2 separate regions of the Homo sapiens genome follow, and region 1 is linked to region 2. The links are contacts of gene promoters, found by promoter capture Hi-C in human tissues and cell types (Jung and others, 2019). All regions are on one chromosome and are shown on one strand. The core of a region is centred on a gene start or on the middle of the fragment in contact, and the rest is flanking DNA. Distances in the headings are between cores, read along the strand shown.

What was found. The method cuts DNA at HindIII sites, captures the fragments that hold promoters and counts their contacts. A contact is called where the count stands out against the background at its distance.
Region 1: a fragment that was not itself captured here is called in contact with the fragment with the promoter of ATP2A2 in region 2 in 1 of the 25 tissues and cell types used here (mesenchymal stem cells).

Annotation. Positions count from the first base shown.
Region 1 is chr12:110,058,173-110,061,110 of GRCh38, forward strand. It overlaps a transcript of C12orf76 not described here. Among named protein-coding and RNA genes, the nearest start is that of C12orf76, 11 kb to the left of the region's middle. The HindIII fragment of the contact is 4,989 bases long and covers 1-2,938 here.
Region 2 is chr12:110,279,640-110,282,547 of GRCh38, forward strand. It overlaps ATP2A2 (ATPase sarcoplasmic/endoplasmic reticulum Ca2+ transporting 2), which reads left to right and starts at 1,608. Exons shown (of 20, transcript NM_170665.4): 1 at 1,608-2,268. The coding sequence starts at 2,151. RefSeq lists enhancers at 1,116-1,185, 2,303-2,908 and silencers at 1,276-1,875, 1,966-2,475. The HindIII fragment of the contact is 9,241 bases long and covers 1-2,908 here.

The DNA of each region.
Region 1 (2,938 bases), core at 196-2,695, 220 kb before region 2:
GACACACAAACAGATATACTGATGTTACAAACGTGGCCACACTACAGGCTGCAGGCTGTTTTGTAACTTGCTATTTTTACTCAATAATATGTTATTAATTCTTTCTATGACAGTAAAGATATCTGTGATAAAGATAGATCTATGATACACAATCATTTTCAGTGGCTAAAGAGTATCCTAGTGATTGAATATATGAAACTGCCCATTTTGGCAGGTCATGGTGCCTCACGCCTGTAATCCCAGCACTTTGGGAGGCCAAGGCGGGCAGATCACTTGAGGCCAGGAGTTCAAGACCAGGCTGGCCAACATGGCGGAAACCCTGTCTCTACTAAAAATGCAAAAATTATCCAGTTGTGGTGGTGCATGCTTGTAATCCCAGCTACTTGGGAGGCTGAGGCAGGAGAATCACTTGAACCTGGAAGGCGGAGGTTGCAGTGAGCCGAGATCATGCCACTGCACTGCACTTCAGCCTGGGCAACAGAGTGAGACTCTCTCTCCAAAAAAAAGAAAAGAAAGAAAGAACTGCCCATTTTGTAGGCCATAGCTATAGAATACAGGCAGTTCCATATGGCTCAAGCTAAGAGGTACATTGTGATAATTTGCCAGTCAGTCTCTGGGATAGATATTTAACTGTAACTTTTGTTCAATTTTCCCAATTATAAACAATTTTTGGTAACCCTAATATGTCCTTACCATGTGCCAACCACTCTTCTAAGTCTATTTTGCTGACATATATTAACTTTTGCAATTCTTACTCCCCCCCACCAAAAAAATGAAAACAAAAACCAACTCTATAAGGAAGGTGCTAGTATTACCTCCACCTAATAGCCGAACAAACTGTGGTATGAATGAAGCGAGAAGCTTGTCCAAGGTCACATGGTAAACAGCAGCGCCAGCTCTGAACGCAGCCATCTGGCTCCACAGCCTCAGCTCTCTTAAATGCTATGGTAAATGGAATTATTTTTCCAATTTCCTTTTCAAATGTTCCTTGCTGGTGTAAAAAAAAATGCACACACACAATTAATTTTTGTGTGTTGATCTTGTTCCTTGCGACTTTACTGAATTGGTTAATTAGCTCTATCTAATAGTTTTCTTGTGAATTCTTCGGGATTCTCCATATATGGGATTGTGCCATCTGTGATTAAAGATAGTTTTACTTCATTCTTTGCCATCTGGATGCCTTTTATTGCTTTTCTTGTCTAATTGCTCTGGCTAGAACTTCCAGTACAATGTTGAACAGCAGCGGTGAAAGCGGGCATCCTCGTCCTGTTCCTGATCTCAGGAAGAATGCACTCAGGCTATGCTCCTAACAACTGTGCTCACTGTCTGTCCACCCCACATTCATGTTGCCAGAAATCCCTGCACAAGCTTCTTCACACACCTAAGGCATTAAGTCTATACAGGACTTCTGGGTCAAAGGGTGTGCACATTTTCTATCTGAGTTTATTTTCCTAAATCATAAATGCTTGAACCATTTCATGCTTCCATCACCAAAGCAAGAGTGTGTACACTGCCTCTTAAGAGGGGCTTGACAAACAAGCGGTGTGAACTTGGTTGAGACAGTTGAGGGTCTGGTCGCCAGGCTGAGAGCACATGGCCTGTAGGATGGAGGCTGTGAGTTTGAAGAAGAGGAGAGACATAGTAGCAGTGTGCAGCCATTTGAAGAGGGACACAAGGCAAAACTAAGCAAAGGTGAAAGTTACAGGGGGAAAGATTTTGGCTCATTTTCTCAGGAAGAAAAGTGACAGGGCAGTCCCAGAGCAGAACAAGCTTTCCTTGTGGTTACTGCTGGTGATGGTGAGGAAGATGATGAAGATAATTTTCATTTACCACATCAACTTCCCTTTCTCTCCTGTCCCCTTTCCATCTGCACTTAACATCATTTCTCTACTAAAAATACAAAATTAGCCAGGCATGGTGGCACATGCCTGTATTCCCAGCTACTCAGAAAGCTGAGGCAGGAGAATAGCTTGAACCCCAGAGGCGGAGGTTGCGGTGAGCCGAGATCACCCCATTACACTCCAGCCTGTGCAACAAGAGTGAAACTCTGTCTCCAAAATACCCCCTCTTCAATCCCACATTCTCTTACCACCACTCCATGCCTCTCTTCTTCATAGCCAAGTCCCCTGAAAGAGTGAGTCATCATATCCATTTCTGCATCTCCATTCACTCCTCCGCCCACTCCAGTCTGGCTCCCACCCCCATCCCTTCTCTAAAGCCTCTCTTGCCAAGTAAACAACAACGTCATTGTCACTAAATCCAATAGACACACCACATAGCTGATCTTCCTGGAACTCTCAGCACCAGTTGACACTGTGACCATGCCCCACCTCCCTCACCTCCTTCCCTTAGCTTGCAGGAATCCACCTTTGCCTGACTTTCATTGGATCTCTGTGGCTACTCCTTCTCAGAATCCTTTGGGGACTTCAGCACTCCCACCCCTTAAAGGTTAGCCCTTCTCCGGGGTCGGTTCTAGGCCCTCTTGCTTTCTCATCTACTTCTTCTCTTGCTGGTGAATTGCAGCTTCTTCCATGGTTCTAGTTCCCATCTATATGCTGGTGATATAGAAACCTACATCTCAGGCCAGGCGCAGTGGTTCATGCCTGAAATCCCAGCACTTTGGGAGGCTGAGGTGGGCGGATCACCTGAGGCCAGGAGTTCAAGACCAGCCTGCCCAACATGGTGAAACCCAATCTCTACTAAAAATACAAAATTAGCCAGGTGTGGTGGCGGGCACCTGTAATCCCAGCTACTCAGGAGGCTGAGACAGGAGAATCACTTGAGCCCGGGAGGCGGAGGATGCAGTGAGCTAAGATCGCACAACTGCCCTCATATCCCTTAGCTCATTGCAATAGAGGAAGAGTAATTCATGCAGAGCCAGCTCTGTGGGGGAGACCAGAGACTCTGACTCAAAAAAAAAAAAAAAAAAGAAACCTAC
Region 2 (2,908 bases), core at 358-2,857:
TCAAATGCCTAAGCTAATTTCCAGGCTGAGAAAGGTAAACCATCCTTCTCCTGCCTGCAGTGCTTCTATCGGTCCTGAAAGAGACAGAGGAGGTAAGGGAGAAGAATTGGTACGAAATGGTGCAGAGCTGGTCTCAGAGGGCAACAACAGCCAGCCCTCCATGACCACACTCCCACCGTGCACTCACGTGCCCCTCTTGAAGCGGCTCTGATCCTGTGACCTAACCAGTTTCCACCTGGCTTCTCTCAGTGCGTTGCCATATAGTATAATTTTTTGTTTGTTTGTTTCGTGTAGGGTTTTGTTGGTTCTTTTCCAAGTATCAATCAAAACTACATGCCAACGTCCACTCCTTGGAAATAATTAAATGACATGACGTGCCTGATTTTTTCAGCTGGTGATGCACTGTAATTTGCATCTGCTGAAGGAATTTATCTTAAGTCCTGAAGCCCAGCCACTTGAGACAACTGAGGTGATTTTTCTGCTCTGCTTTTGCTCATGCGGATGGTGCGTTATTGTTAAACACAAAAGTGGACTAATTGCTTCATTCTGCAACCTACTCCGTGAAGAAAGCTGCTCTTCTTTGTGAAGAGAATATGTTCATGTTTTGTTCATGAATTCCATGCAATTTCCCATCCCCTTGTTAAGTAATGTAGCTTCTTTATATTGGCAAAATTCCCTTTATCTTGCTGTGACCTGCGCTTTGTCCTCCCGAGCAGAGCAAATCATCTGTGGTTTAAGAGCAGCTTTGGATTCAAGTCCCCTTTTCTCCTGTCGAGGGAAGTGAGTCTATGAAATGGCCTTCATCTGAAAGCCACAGCGAAGCACCTCCTAGCCCAAGTCTAGCTGCTGTGTGGCAGCTCCAGCGGCGTGAACTGTGACTGCCCTGCAGACACCTATCAAGCGCTGCGTCAGCTATTAATAATAAAATCAACTCTTCTCCCTCCCCCCCGCGAGGGGGGTTCCCTCGTCAGGGCCCAGAACCCGCTGGGGAAGAATCGGGGCTGGCGTGCGAAGGAGCTGGCGGCAGGGGGTGTAGGATGCGGTGTTCCCGAGGCGACAGATGAAGGATTTGGGTTGTGTGGGAAGTGAACTGCGGAATTCCTCCCCTTGGTTTCTGAGGGGGGCTCTGAAGGAGCCAGATTAGGATGCAGAGCGCAGCCCGGGCGACCGAGGGCGAGGAGGCGAGCCAAGGACATCAGCCCGAGGGCGCCTCGAGACGCCCCGCGTGGACCGCGCTCCCAGCTCCTCGGCCTCGCCTTCCAACCATCCGCCCACCGGCCCCAGAGCAGCGTGCCCACTGTGAGCGCCCCACCCTGCGTCTGCAGGTGGGTGGGTCAGAGAACCGCAGGCACAGAAGAGGGTACCCAGCTTCCCCTCCGCCAGCCCCGCGACCGCGGCGCGCGCGGCCTCGATCCGGGTTCCTAGGGGCGGCGCGCGGGAGGGGGCGGGGCCTGCGCGGCAGCGTGGGCGCCAGGCGCGCGGGAGGAGGGAGCCGGGAGGAGGGGGCGGGGCCGCGCCGCCCGCGCCGCGCTGGGCGCTCTCGGCCAATGAGCGGCGTCCACATGCCGCGGCGGCGGCGAAAGGGGAGGCAGCGGCCGATAAATGCTATTAGAGCAGCCGCCGCGGAGCCGTCCCCGACGCCACCTCCTTTTCCTTCGCCGCAGTTTCCTCCGCCGCTGTCGGGCGTGCGGCGCTGAGGGACCCGGGCGAGCGCGCCGCGCACCGCCCCGCCGGCTCGCCTCCCTCGCCGCGTTCCGCCCTCAGTGGTCTGCCGGGCGCCCCCTCCTCCGGCCCGGGCGGGGCCTCTGATCGCCTCAAGAGAGCGGGGAGGGGGCTCGGGGGCCGCGGCCTGCCCTCCCGGCGGGCGGCTGAGGGCGAGGGAGGCCCTCCCTTCTGGCGAGGGGAGGGAGGGTGGGTCAGGAGCCCCCAACCCGCCCTGCGGAGCTCGGGGCCGCGCGAGGGGCGGTTGTCTGGGGGAGGGGGCGCGGGGTGATTCAGCGCCCGGCGAGGCGGAAGCGGCCGCAAGAGGAGGAGGGGAGAGCCCGTCCGCGCCTGGGCTCCCGGGGTGGCACGAGCCCGCGGCCGGAGTGCGAGGCGGAGGCGAGGAGGCCGCGGGGACGGGAGGCGAGGCCGGCCGGGCCCCCGAAGCCATGGAGAACGCGCACACCAAGACGGTGGAGGAGGTGCTGGGCCACTTCGGCGTCAACGAGAGTACGGGGCTGAGCCTGGAACAGGTCAAGAAGCTTAAGGAGAGATGGGGCTCCAACGGTAGGTGCAGGGCGCTCCGCTGCAGGGGCCCGGCGCGGCCGGGAGAGCCAGGGAAGATGGCTGACCGGGCTCCACCTCGTGGGCTTCGGCTCCGCGCCCGCCGACAGCTGCGGGCGGAGGGTCGGGCCAGCGCGCCGGCCCCGCGGGAGAGAAAGGGGCTGCGGTCCTCGCCTCGCCTTCCCTGGACCTCTTCGCTTCTCGGGCCCTCGACCTTTTCGGCGCGCAAGGCTCGGAGGCTTCTCTCCAGCAGCAGCCGGCCCCGGTGGAGGGAGGGACGTGGCTTCTGCAGCTAGGTTGAGCCCGGCAAGACGTTTTCTCGTCCCCTGCCGATTTATGAGGAGTCGAGGTCGTTGGAAGGCCTCTGACCGTTCTTGTCCTACCCAAAGTTACACATCTGGCAGAAGTGATGACATCGCTGAAACCACTCCTAGGTTCAGGAGCCCGAAGTGATTTCACGCTTAGGGCTAGACCTCAGGCCATTGATTACAAAGAGTGCATGCTTCCTTGAGATATCTTCGTGGTATGCCCTCTGCTAAAAAAATCGGATATTCTTATAGCTAGGTCTGTGTTTTAAAGATATTGATGCTTAGAATTGTAGCAGTTCTTTTTAGAAAAACGAAGTGCTAAAATGTCTCTCTCT